Linked DNA regions of Homo sapiens: all the other regions are linked to region 3. Evidence: promoter capture Hi-C in 16 types of primary human blood cells and fetal thymus (Javierre and others, 2016). All regions are on one chromosome and are shown on one strand. The core of a region is centred on a gene start or on the middle of the fragment in contact, and the rest is flanking DNA. Distances in the headings are between cores, read along the strand shown. Region 1 has its middle 70 kb from the start of HTR4. Region 2 has its middle 46 kb from the start of HTR4. Region 3 holds the start of SPINK7 (serine peptidase inhibitor Kazal type 7).

Evidence for each region. The method cuts DNA at HindIII sites, captures the fragments that hold promoters and counts their contacts. A CHiCAGO score of 5 or more calls a contact.
Region 1: a fragment that was not itself captured here is called in contact with the fragment with the promoter of SPINK7 in region 3 in 3 of 17 cell types (M2 macrophages, endothelial precursors and M0 macrophages); the score reaches 5.9 in M2 macrophages.
Region 2: a fragment that was not itself captured here is called in contact with the fragment with the promoter of SPINK7 in region 3 in 2 of 17 cell types (M0 macrophages and M2 macrophages); the score reaches 5.2 in M0 macrophages.

What each region holds. Positions count from the first base shown.
Region 1 is chr5:148,722,196-148,726,835 of GRCh38, reverse strand. No RefSeq gene overlaps it. Among named protein-coding and RNA genes, the nearest start is that of HTR4, 70 kb to the right of the region's middle. The HindIII fragment of the contact is 5,848 bases long and covers 27-4,640 here.
Region 2 is chr5:148,698,296-148,702,733 of GRCh38, reverse strand. No RefSeq gene overlaps it. Among named protein-coding and RNA genes, the nearest start is that of HTR4, 46 kb to the right of the region's middle. The HindIII fragment of the contact is 1,950 bases long and covers 1,738-3,687 here.
Region 3 is chr5:148,309,122-148,314,083 of GRCh38, reverse strand. It overlaps SPINK7 (serine peptidase inhibitor Kazal type 7), which reads right to left and starts at 1,661. Exons shown (of 4, transcript NM_032566.3): 1 at 1,540-1,661; 2 at 685-710. The coding sequence starts at 1,600. All of the region lies in intron 2 of FBXO38-DT (FBXO38 divergent transcript), which reads left to right. The HindIII fragment of the contact is 4,809 bases long and covers 307-4,962 here.

The DNA of each region.
Region 1 (4,640 bases), core at 1,701-4,200, 410 kb before region 3:
CTTCAGGCATTAGTGGTGCAAAAGCTTAGATCTTTGATTTCTTAGCACCACAGGAAAGGGGAATGGCATTTTTCAGGGCTTCCAATTTGCTAACTCAAGCAGCAACTCTGAATTCAGAATCTACAGTGACTCTCAGCTGTGTCCCTTGATCCTTGATCTTCAGGCTGGATCCTGTTGCCAGCAGCAACTCCAGGAGCAGGAGGATTCTGCATCAGCCACAGACCAGCCCAGAGGAAGAAACAGTTAATTTATCTGAACTTTGGTTTCCCTGTGAGTACAGAGCATGGATAATACTACTGCTCCTGGGTAAAAATAAGACTATATAATTTCATTTGTTTGTATCTACAAAAACAAAACAAACAAAATTTAAAAAAAAAATCAGCTGGGTGCAGTGGCTCACGCCTGCAATCCCAGCACTCTGGAAGGCCGAGGCGGGCGGATTCCCTGAGGTCAGGAGTTCGAGACCAGCCTGATCAGCATGAAGAAACCCCATCCCTACTAAAAATACAAAAATTAGCTGGGCGTGGTGGCTTATGCCTGTAGTCCCAGCTACTCGGGAGGCTGAGGCAGGAGAATCACTTGAACCTCGGGGGCGGAGGTTGTGGTGAGCCAAGATCATGCCATCGCACTCTAACCTGGGCAACAAGAGTGAAACTCTGTCTCAAAAAAAAAAAAAAAAATCAGAGGGATAAATGAGGGACAAATCAAATGGCTCCCATTAAAGGTTAAGCACGGGAATGGCGTTAGACAGGGACAAAGACAGGAAAGTTACTTCTCAGTGTATAGCCGTTTGTGTCATTTTTATTTAGGAGCCACTTTGGCAGTGCTCTTGTGAGAACGACATGAGGTGATGCATGCCCAGCATCCTGCATACTCCGGGCTATTTGCAAAATGCTAGTACTTCCACTGCAGCACCTTGAGCCTCCCACAGGGACATGCTCCTTATCTGCACCTGCTGGTCTATATGCTGAGAAATGACGGAAGTAATCACCTGTGTCCTTAGCGAGCTGCTCTAATATTTATTCACATGAAAACTATGGTGACTCTTCTTCCTGTGCTTTCTGCCCTCTTTTCTTCCTGCCTTCTTCCAGCCATGTCAAGTCCAATTTGGAGCTTCATAAATAGTTCCGGCTCACTACTGCCCACCCCTTTTTCTTTCCACCAGTTAAATGCTACCCGGTTTTCTACAGCAGAGCAGTAACTTATTGTCTTAGATCAAGCAACTCTTAAGACTATCAGGTGTCACGAATTGTGCTAAGGAAAGGATCTGGCTCTAAGCCGGTGTGGTCATGTGGGAAAACAATGAAGTGAGGAAATTTAGGAGGAATTTGATTAATACAAGTAATTTAGAGATTCATTTGCCCTTACTGTCTTCCTGAAACCTCCCAGGCTGACTTCACTGAGTTTCAGGGAGTATCTCTCTGGATTAAGATTTATATGTGGTGAGATTCACTTGCTAGGAATGAAGAGAGAGAAGAAAGGAAGAATGACAGAAAAAAGTTGTATTCTAGATTTTATGAGATGGCCAGAAAATGAAAGAGGTAACCAGAGGCAAAAACTGAGAGACTTGTGCAGCAGATGAGGAAACCGTTTAGTGTAAGTAGCCCATCCTTACCTTTGAGATGGGAACACACAAATTCACTGTGCCCTTGGCACTTTCTTAATGGGTGATCCAAGGCAAGATCCTTCTGGGTTGATTAAATGAGGACACCAGAAGGTTCTTGATGTCCTTGGCAAATCATGCAGCCTCAATGAGTCTATTTCATCAACTGTAAATTGCATATAGCAAGAGCTACTCCTAGGGGTTCAATGAGATCATGAGGCAGTGATTGGGACTCCAGATTCAGGATGCCTGGATTAAAATCCCAGCTCTGTCACTTGTTCATCTGTGTGACCTGGGAGCAAGGTATTGAATCAGGGACAAGTTAGTCAGTTATTTTTCAGAATTTCTTTATGTAAGAATTGAAATACGAAATATTTAGCACATACAGTTGTTGTAAGGACTAAATTAGATAATGCAGATAAAATACATAGAAAAATACTTGGCACATAACATATGTTCAGTAAATGCTTCATAGTTAGTGGTGGTAATGATAATAGTAAAAGATAATTCATATAAAGATCCAGTGCAAAGTCTGGCACATAGTAGACCCTCAGTAGATGTTAGCTATTATTACTCTGGGTTTCCCTGATTTTAGGACTTGCTCACAACTACATCTATTCCCAATACCTGCCTCAGTTCTAGCCTCTCAGTGTAACAGGAACTCCATCCTCACCAGCTGTGTGGGCTGTAAGTGGTTTTGCTACCTTGTGCCAAAGTGAATAATGTCAATGGGCATTTCTTGTTCACGTGGGTCATGAATTTCAAGTCATCAGGACTTCATTTGTGCCTTGCTTTTCTGAGCTTGTTACTGCAACTCTACCAGATACGGAGCCTGGCAGTGAGTTCTAATCTGTCTGTGACCCTGATTCCTCATACATTTGGCTTATTTGATCCTACTGGAGTTGTGCTTCAAACTTAATAGAGCAACTTGAGACTGTGATGCTACCATTCTCATGACGCAGAATAGCTGCTGTGCACACGCTCATGCTGTCCTTGGCTATCTGAGCCTGCCAAGGCTGGATTGAATTAGCTGCAAGCCTTCTGCCCAATTCTGGGGGACCAACTCCTCACCGGGCCTAGGATGCTTCTCTTTATTGGCCATTCCTGCCTTACATTTCCTATCTTCCTGGCCCCAGGTCAAATTGTTCATGATATTTTCAACTATGAGATTCTGTTATTCCTTGTTGAACTGCAGAAGTGTATTATAACTTCAAAAATACTTTTCTGTTTTCCGGAGAAGGAGCAAATGTCAAAATACTTCACGAGTGGTCTTGAGCCAGAATTGCTTTGTGGTTTCATGATGTAGGGGTATCTGGAGGCATAGACTTACTTTTCTATTCATTTCACTTTTCTTTTAGAAGACATTCTTGAGTAAGTATGTCCTGGCACAGTCTGGGTGCTTCTCTCTGTCACGTTTTTTACTTTTCTTGGGGAAAAAATGCAGCGAGCTCAGCTATCATAATGAAAAGCCTCAGAATATGGCATTTTTTAAACAAATGTTGAATACTAGTGCAAGTTATATTTCTGATACTGATGTATTATGCTTCAGCAAGAAGTGTTATCTTGCGAATTCCATTCTCCAAGTGACATTTTGAGAGGTTTAATTGACTCTATCTATTAAATTAGGACCTGGACTTGAAAACATTGAAAGTTTTTAGCTTTTAAGTGAGGGATGTAACACTCAGGATAGAAATTTGATTTTATATCATGAGATCACTCTATCTTTGGTTCATGCATAAGTGCATTTTTGAATTGCTCAAAATTTTTGTTGTTGAATATGAAAAAGCCAGTTAAAATAGAAACTGAGTTATTTGAGCTGCAGCCATTATCTCTACTAGTTATATGTTTGAAAACTATCAGCATAAAAAGCTAAACATGCATGTTGTGCAATACCATCAGAGATTCTGATGAACACTGTTCTTGTCTGTTTCCAATAAGCATTCAGTCTAGTGAGGAGAGAAACTAGAAATAAGACAATTACACTAATTCTTGCAATTTGCATTTCCTACTAACACAAAAACACTTTTAAATAAGCAATATATGTACAGAAATAAACAAAATAAACTACAGGCTTGTATTGAGTTTACATTCTTACTTAATATGATCCAGAGTTCTAGGGTTTAGTGGTATGGGCCAGAGAACTTATTTTTCCATCTGGGAGTTGGTAGTTGAGAAGGATTTTAACATGTGGTAGGAGAAGGGTTCAAGACTTAAGGAAGAGTCTGAATAAAGGCACAATAATGTGGCTGTGCAATATGTGCCCAGGCACTGTGGCATTAGTAAAGGAGATTTATCACTGAAATACTAGGTAGAAGTATGGTTAGAATATGGAAAAGTCACATGTCTAATTTTCCTTTCTGTAGTACTAAATCAAACATTTTAATGAAATTACTGAGTAGAGGCAATACCTACCCATGGGTTTTAAAGATCTCAAGAATGAAATTTTACAACCGTTGGCCAACATATCTAGTTTCACTGGAAATTTTATAAGTATAGAAGAAAGTGGAAATGTTAATAAAGAGAAAGAAGCCAGTTGGCTGTCCCCTACTTGATGAGATTACCTCATTCTTAATTGAAAATGAGCTTGACAAACATAATGACACTGATTACATTTCCCCAAAAACTGGCTTGTAGACCAGAATTCTTTCCTTGACAGGTTCAGTAGGAATTCTACCAGTCAGGACAAATAACATGTGTCATGACGTGAGGTTTTGCTTATTGATGAAAGAGAAAAATCCAGACAGAAGATAGCTTGGTCAGTACAGGATTAAAATAAAAGGAACCTGGTATTGTTAAACACCAAAGTGGAACATTTGGATATTTGGCCATCTTTTGCCTAAGTAAAATTCTGCCTCACTCTCTGACAAGGGTGAAAGTCATACTGATCATTTTAAATCAGAATTTTCCACTTTTCTAGACCAGTTTTGTTGGGCTATCACAAAACTACATATCATAGATTGCTTAGGTTGTATTTTAATCTCTTCTATCATATGTGAGAGACATCCTAGTCTAATCAGCAACATATTCTTAGAGCTAA
Region 2 (4,438 bases), core at 1,463-3,962, 390 kb before region 3:
CTATCTCTTATATAATTACCTTTACTGATGATCTCTTTTTGTGTGGATTTGAATTACTGTCCAGGGTTGCTTGCTTTCAGCCTGAGAACTTCTTTTATTATTGCATGTAAAATGGCTGCAAGCAGCAATTTTTCTCTGTTTTTGATTATTTGGAAAATTCTTCATTGTACTTAGAATTTTGAAATATAGCTTTTATGAAATAGGATTCTTGGTTGGTCAGCAGCCTTTTTTTGAGCACTTTGAATATGTTATTCTACTGTCTTCTAGTCTCCTTTGTTTCTGGTGAGAAGTGATCTGCAAATTGTATTTGGGTTCCTTTTAAGTGATGAGTCATTCTTTTCTTAATGCTCTCAAGATTTTCTCCTTGTCTATGACTTTCACTATTTTGACAGTGCTGTATCTGTAGATCTCACATTTATCCTACTCATTCTACATGTAGGTTTGTGTACTTAATAATGCCTAAATTTCTCTGAGGCTCTGTTCTTTCTTTATTCTTTTTGCTTTCTGTTCTTTGGATTGTATCATCTCTATAGGTTTATCTTCATGTAGGCTAAGTCTTTATTCTGCCAGTTCAAATCTACTGTTGAGCTCCTCTAGTGAATCTTTTATTTCCATTGTTGTACCTTCAGCTTCAGAATTTCCATTGGTTTCTTTTTTAAAAATTTCTATGACCTTATCAATACTGATATTTTTCTATTTGATGAGCAGTTGTCATTATATCCTTCTTTATTTCTATAATTATAATTTTCTTTAGGTTTTTTTGGACATATTTCTAATGGCTACTTTGAATACTTTGTTAAATCTGATATCTGGTTGCTATCACAGGCAGTTTCTTCTGCCCTCTTTCTTCCTCCAGTATATGTTTTATTTTCATGTTTCTTTGTATGTTTTTGCAGTTGGGTTGGAAACTAAATATTTTAGATAATATATTGTAGAAACTATGGATTCTAATCTTCCTCCCTTGTGGCTTTTTATTACTATTTGCTTAGTGACTAGCTGGATTATTTTAGTGAAGTCTATTTCTCTTCCCCACAGTGCTTAGCTTCTGATGTTGCAGATCTGTGAAGCTCCTCATGCTGTCATGTTGCCTTCCTATTTTTAAACCTTCAAAACATTAGAAATGGGCCCCAGATTCTTTCAAGTGACTTATTGCTTTTGTTGATGTGATTTTGTCATGAATAAGCTTTCGAAATAGAAAGATTAAACAGAGTATGTTTTCCTTTTAGAAAGAAATAGAATATATTGTATTCTTACAGCATGCCGTATTCTTGTAGCATGGAATAAGTTTTATTTGATTGCTTTATTCAATTTTTTATTTTTATTAAAATCTTTGTATCTATAAGAGGAAAGCTCACTATAGTTGTGTGTGTGTTCATACTTTAATAACAATTAGGATTAAGACCACTTTTTTCTTTCGTAGTAGGAAATTTGCTATTATTTTCTCTTTCAAGAAATGAAATGGGTAGTTAGGTTACTTTTTGCTATTTGAAAGTTTGGAGAAATTTTGATCTAAACAAGAATGTTCAAGTCTTATTTTAATAATGGTGTATGAACACTTTTTAGTGCTGTATATTCAAATTTCCTCTTCCTTTTATGACCATTCTGATGTTTTATATTTTTAGGGTTTTCACTTGGAAAAATAAAAATAGCATAGGCCTTGTAGATCTGAATTTAAATTCCAGCTGCACCTCTTAGTAGCTGGGTGACCTTGGACATACACCTTCATCTCTGTAAGCTTCAGTTTCTGCTATAAAAGGAGGAAAAATATTTATAAAATGGCTTATTATACCAACAAAAAAAGGATGTGTATAAAGCACTCAGCACTGAGACAAAGTCAGTAGCTAGTAAATGTTAATTCCCTTGCTTTGAGAAAATAATATATTTCACACAGAATTTAAAATATATTAGCATTTAACTGTGCCAAATGTTTCTTCGTACAATTTTTCTATTATCCTGTTGCTCTATTTTCTGTCTTATTTATATTTTTATTAGTTTTTTAAATTAGATTTTGCTGTTTTTTGGACATTTCTTAGTCTTTTTCAAGTAGTAATCTTTGGTTATATTAATTACTTGTTTTAGTTTTCTCTGTTATGTAATCACCTTGTTTATTTTATCATGTTTATAGTTTCCAATTCTTCTGTAGTTTTTCAAAAACTAATTTTCTTATCTTATATGATGTGGGAACATAGTGAATGTTCTTTTATTTTATTAAGAATAAAGACAAGTAAAGCTCTAAATTTTTTTCCAAATATTGTTTTAACCATTTCCTATAGATTTTGACATATAATTATTATTCTTTTAATATCCTTCTCTTAACTTCTGAGCATGTGATCTTCAGGGATGGACTGGAAGCAGAGGGACTAGTCGAAGAAGCCATCATAACCATCATCTGAAAGGCTATAGCTAACTATCTCAAGTGAAAATACTAATTGGGTGTCAGAATGTCTGGGGCCTAGAAATAAAATCAACCCATACTAATCGAATGCCTATATGTGCTGAACACTGTCCTCCTCATAGTATTTTTTGTGTATCTCCTTAATTGTCACAATAGTGTTGTGACATTTGTCCCATTTCCTCCTTTCTGCAATTGAAGATATTGTAGTAGTCAAATGACTTACCCAAGAGCACAGAACAAGTAAAATCTATTTCTTAGGAATCCTAGCTGGCTATTTGCTCCACTGCTATGCTATGCCACCTTTTGTAAGTCTCTTACAGACTTATTTAGAGCCCAAATCTTATCACTTGTATAAGCGGTGGGCATTGTTACCTTTTAATTAACTTTGTGGGGACAGGAGTGGATTGTCTTGTTGATATGGTTTGGCTGTGTCCCCACCCAATCTCAACTTGAATTGTATCTCCCAGAATTCCCATGTATTGTGGGAGGGACCCAGGGGGAGGTAATTGAGTCATAGGGGCCAGTCTTTCCCATGCTATTTTCACGGTAGTGAATAAGTCTCATGAAATCTGTTGGGTTTATCAGGGGTTTCCGCTTTTGCTTTCTCCTCATTTTTCTCTTGCTGCCACGATGTAAGAAATGCCTTTCTGAGGCCTCTCCAGCCATGTGGAACTGTAAGTCCAGTTAAACCTCTTTCTTCCCAGTCTCGGGTATGTCTTTATCAGCAGCGTGAAAACAGACTAATACACTCGTCTTTAAAATATTACTTGTGCTTAGTTAACTTAAGAGAACACATGGATGTCATTGAGAGCAGTTTCCCAATACAGGAAAAGGCTCACATGTGAAAGAGCTCACTCATCTATTTCACATTTCTCCATAAGACCATGTCTGATAAGACTAGTGTATAGAATATCAATAGTAGTTACAGTTAATGATATAACTGCTATGTGACAAACACTGTGCCATAAGAACATTATATGTGTTATTTCAAGGAATCCTTATCACAGTCAGACGAGGTGGGTATTATTATTATTTTTCTCCCTTGTTTATTGATTGGGATGCTGACACCCCAAAGCGTTAAGTAATTCATCTAAAGTTGCAGAAACAGGAAGTGGCACAGCTGGTATTTAAATTAAGCTATCTAGCTTCAAAACCCAAGATTCTCTCAATCATTTTTGCTTAATTGTGTCTTCTGAAAGCTATAATAAGGCAGACTATTAATTAATATAAAGGAAAATACTAAGAATGTGGAGCTTCAGGAGGTATTGGATGGACTGATACACGTAGAAGCTTGTGATCTTCTGCCCACAAAAGAAAGGGGGACTCTGTGAACTGAAGTCCACTTATACTAATCCTAAATAAGACTCTAGAATAATATTTTTAGAAATAGAGTAGTGTGCGATAGAAAAGTCAGACTGCCTTGTGTCAATGGGTCAAGTGGGGTAGATGAAATATCTTCTTACAGATAGAGTCTTAAATTTAGATGGACAGTCTAACTCTATGCCCTTTTAATTCTTTTTCAGTAGCCTTTAAAAAACTTTTTGAAATCAAATATCTTAAATATTAATTTTTATTTTGTCAGAAATAGAAATTAGAACAAGATATCTCAGGTTCTTTCTGTGCGTAGTTCACATTCATACACTAGAAATTTAGAGTTCCCCTCAAGACAGTAAGAGATTCAAGAACAGGAAAAGATAATTACAATGCAAATACTAATCTCATACACAGGTATCTTGAAGATTCTATAGAAACATCTATAGTTGTATGCTATAAAAATGTATAATCCATCAGCACTGTGGGGCTCCTTGAGGAAAGCTCTGACTGCCCTGTGCAACCCCTGTTATACATACATACATATGGCCATGTGCAGGAGATGTGTACTCTTTCTTAGATGCCAGCTTGATATTAATCTATATCAATTATTCAAAATAAATTATACCAACTCTACAGCATTTTGATGATCCACTCAACTCAGTGCTATACCTAACAAACTTTGCCATAAGTGTTTTATAGTGAACACCGTGGAACAGTTGTATGTATCAA
Region 3 (4,962 bases), core at 412-2,911:
CAAATGTCCTGTTTTTCTCCCAGACCCCAAGCTAGGCCACTATTAGATATACTACAAGGGCTGGAAGTCCCAGCTCAGATATTCAGATGTTGCTTGGCCACTTCTTTAAGTACTAGTGTTATCACTATGACAAATACTAGCACTACTGGTATTCTATTTTTTTCTGCTACACTCAGTTAACAATTGCTGGGCATTTCTGGGCTAGGCGTTAAACTTAAATCTTGCATGAATTTTCTTGTTTAATCTTCAGAACAACTAGAGTAAATTCTACTATTACCTCTCTTTACAAATGTGAAAATTAAAGCTTAGAAATAGAGATAACTTGTTGAAGATAAATGCTGGTAAGTAGTAGAGTTAGGATTTGAATCTAGAGCCTGTGCAATTTATCAGGGTACTTTTGCTCTGCCTTTTACACGTTATGCCTTTTATGAAAACATCACCAACTTCTCAGCTGGAAGGCGGTTCTCCCTTCTTTAACTCTGGCATTTTTAAAAAACATTTTTAAAATATGGTTGTTTATATGTATGTCATATTTGTTTAGTTGCCTTCTGGAGAACAGGTACCATTTCTCCATGTGTGTTTGCCTCCCTCTCGAATCCCCCTAAACATAATTTATCCTACATATATGTTGACTAAATGACAGTCAATAGTTATTGACATTAAAATGTTATTCAACATACTTACTTTTTTTGGAGACAGACTAGCAGCTTCTGAAAAAGAGATACAGATGAAGATGTTAAAAGTAAAGCAAACTTTAAATCTCATTAATTAATATAAGTTTCATCCTATATAATTACTCTACATTTCCTTTAGCAATGAGATTCAGCACACTCTCCATCCTTATGCAAAATCCTAGTTGTTTGCTGAGGAAGTTGAATGGCCAATGGGTTAGGTTAACCCTTGGTTTAGGTAAGAGAATTATAAAAATTTCCTCTATTTATTGATCATGGAATGTTTTCTGAACCTCATAGTGTTTTTGATAATGGCCAAAGTCAAGTAGCAATAAGAAGTATTAAAATCATCACTCCTAAGAGCCTGAAGGATCATCTCTGATATCCTTTCCTTCCCAATTGACATAAAGAAATGCAATTGAATGTCTTTATGTGGTTGGAAACACTTTAATTAATTTTTCACAGTATAAAAGTCTAATTGTTGACCCTTGGCTTTTTGAGACTTGTGTTTTATTTTAATCCCCCCAAACTGATTTGGGAAGACATCCAAGTTTTTCTGTATCTTTGCACTAAGAAATGGTATATCTAATAACACTGACAACTTCCAGTGTCCATATGAACATAGAAATGGAAGACTTACAGAGAAATTAGATCATTTTTTGTTCTATGGATGCAAATAAGAATCCTTGAAAGTGAAGACATTGGACTCAAGTCTCTCAAACTCCAGATGGAACATAAGATCCTATTACAAACCAGTACACTTTAAATTCTTACAACCAGATGTTTCTGAGATGCTCACATCGCAGGAGGGATTATTTATGAAAACAATCTTAATGGCTATATAGGGCACTGTCTGACCTTAACTTACCTGAGCTGCTACAGAAATAGACCACTGTACAGAGCAGAAGGAGACCCCCAGTGATCTTCATGCTGGAAATGGCTGTGGTGTAGAAGCTGCTCTGAGATTGTCACTACAGCTGCATCGACCATATCCCAGGTAAGGGGTCATGTTTATATATATGCAAGGCTTGGTTTCTCCGCCTTTCCTGTGAGGTCATCCAGAGGATCTCAAAGCACGGTGCCACACCCTGGGCTGTGTTACAGTCCTTGTTACTGAACTGCCACTTCTTATCTGACCAATGATTTGATTATTTGAGGTAAGAAGTATTTTCTATCTTCCCCAAAGGTGGGACTGTTAAGAATTCTAAACTTCATGAACTAGAAGAGACTAAGTATGAGCTTCTTGACTTAGTTATGAAATAAGTGAAAATCTCAAACCTCCTTTATTTTACGAAACTGGAATCTATTAAACCCCGATTAGACTGATTACACCTACGTTTATATCTTGGCACCTGGGGAAATATTGTTTATTTTTGAGGCAATGAACCAATGAAGCAAACTGGGACCTAATGGAAGGAACACTGACATTAGCATTTATGAGGTATGGAGAAAAGCACTAACATAATACTTCTGATATTTTCTACCTGTATAATCTTGGATAAGTCGTTATATGCTGTGAGCCTTTATCAATCCAAAAGGCTTGGTTATGTCGTGATAACATGTAACCACAAGATTTCTGTGAATTAAAACAAAACTTTGTTTCTTACTCAAGCTACACTTGTATGGTAGTCAGCTGTTCATGCTACATTGCCTTCACTGTGGATGCCAAGTGGGCAGAGTCATCACTATTTGGAACACTGTAGTCAAGGTGAAGTGAAGTTGAGTTCGTTCTCAAGGAGTTCTCATTTTAGCAATTAAAACTTCCAGCCCAGAGCAATACTGCTGTCACTTCCCCTCATGGTCTCGTGGCCATCACATGCTTTGTTATGTATGGAGTGAGTGCAATCAATCTGATGTGGTTTAGCTGTGTCTCCACCCAAATCCCATCTTGAATTGTAGCTCCCATAATTCCCATATGTTGTGGGAGGGACCTGGTGGGAGATAATTGAATCATGGAGGCAGTTTCCCCCATACTGTTCTCATGGAAGTGAATAAGTCTCACAAGATCTGATGGTTTTATAAGGGGTTTCCCCTTGCACTTGGCTCTCATTCTCTCTTGCCTGCTGCCATGTAAGACATGCCATTCACTTTCTGCCATGATTGTGAGGCCTCTTCAGCCATGTGGAACTGTGAGCCCATTAAACTTCTTTTTCTTTATAAATTACCCAATCTTGGGTATGTCTTTATCAGCAGCTTGAAAACAGATTAATACACAGTCTTACCTTGTCCTGACCTGTTCCCTGACCTGAAGGTTGGATGAAGAACTAGAATAGTTGGCAAACAACAGAGACCATCCCAGAGACTGAGTTTCATCCCAGTCCAATAGGGCCTGTTGTTAGCCACAATAGAGTTCACATAATTGGAATCATATACATAAAAGTCTGCTCTAAAGCACAGTGCATTTAATAATATTATTGTGATTGTTATTATTATTTACAAACCAAGAGTTAATGCTATGAGTTGCTGACATTAGATTGTAAACTGTATTGTCCATGCACAACTGTCCAAATAGCTGCAGTTTGCTTATTGAGTTTAAGGACATATGTATGAAGACCTGGGGGAAGGCAGTAGACTGTCCCACTAGTTTACTGCTTGGCAGGTTTATTTTAGTACATTCTAAAACTAGCATCTACAAGACATATTAAGTGACTAATAAATGATATTGCATAATCTCTAATATTTTACTCCTATATCTGTTTGGGAGGCAATGTAATCTAGTAGTTAAGAGCATGGGCATTGAGTAGATCCCATTTAGAATCTTTCTTCTAAAAAATGTTGACTGTGTGTCTTTTAGTATTTAGGTTAACATCTGATACTTTAGTGTCTTCATCCTTATGACAGAAATAATATTTACCTCATAGGTTGTTTTGAGTGTTAAATTAGATTTTACAGACACACACTCTCTCACACACACACATTATACATTCAACTCTTGAACAACATGGCGTCCGGGGTGCTGACACCACCACAGTTGAAAAATTAACATACAATTTTTTTATTTTTCAATAATTTAACTATTAATATCCTTAATATCCTACTGTTGACCTTATTAATAACATAAACAGTTAATCTACACGTTTTGTATGTTACATGTATTATACACTGTATTCCTACAACAAAGTAAGCTAGAAAAAAGAAAATGTTATTAAGAAAATTGTAAGGAAGATAAAATATATTTACATTAATTAAGTGGAAATGGATCATCATAAAAGTTTTCATCTTTGTTGTCCTCATCTTGAGTAGACTAAGGAGAAGAAGAAAGAGGAAAAGTTGATTTTACTGTCTCAGGAGTGGCAGAGGTAGAAGAAAATCTATGTATAAGTCAACATGTGCAGTTCAGACCAATTTTATTCAAGGGTCAACTGTGCATATAATCTCTTATGGATGCATGTCTGTGAGGTGTCTGTGTGGTATGCTTGTGTGGTTTGTATGTATTTGTGTATTAGGGCACCAAGCTCATAATTAGATCTTGATATATGGTAGCTAATAATATGGAATGTGCTCTTTATAACAACTCATTAAGGAAGGAGTTTTTGTTACCCTAGTTTTGCCAGTGAGTAAGTTAAGACTCAGAGGATTTAAGTAATCTCCCAAGGATCATGATACAATTAATGGAGGAAACTGCTGAGTTCAGTCAAGGAAAAGAAGCAAAGTGAAGGTTCCAATAAGGAGAGGTAATTGTAGGTTTCATTGTTTGCCATGAATGTTTGAAAAGAATGAATCCTAAGAAAAAGCCATTGTGTTTCAAGATGAGGTATCTTTATTGCAGTTTGAAAATGTGCTTTTATCAAAGAGGAGTGGGAATAGGGTCAAAGGGTGGTCAAAATGGTGGTAAAAGATAGGATCACAGATTTTTTTTTAAATTTTTGATAGTCAAAGGAGGAATGGAAGAAGCTGAGGCTACAGAAAGATCTAGGATAGACTGAGCATGTCTTAAAACCAAAGAGAAGAAGAAATTTTACATACATGGTAGAGAGTGGCTAATTAGATGCATGTAGAAAGATAGAAAATAAGGTTAAGAGCACAGATGAAAAACCATTTTCTCTGACACATGAGAGAGAGAAGAGTGGATAAATGTAGAGACAGGCATATTTTGAAGGGTAAGGAAGGAGAGATGGGGGAAGCCCACTGTAAGGTAGGCTCTAGTTGTTCAGTGCTGGTTTGCTTTTTTGCACTGGGAGAACTGGGTTCGTTTGGGAGCTTGAGACAGATGATAGAAGACTTGGCAGCATGTCAGATAGTCAGCAATGGATCTAAAGATTAATGGCCACTGGACAAGTTAGAACTAGAT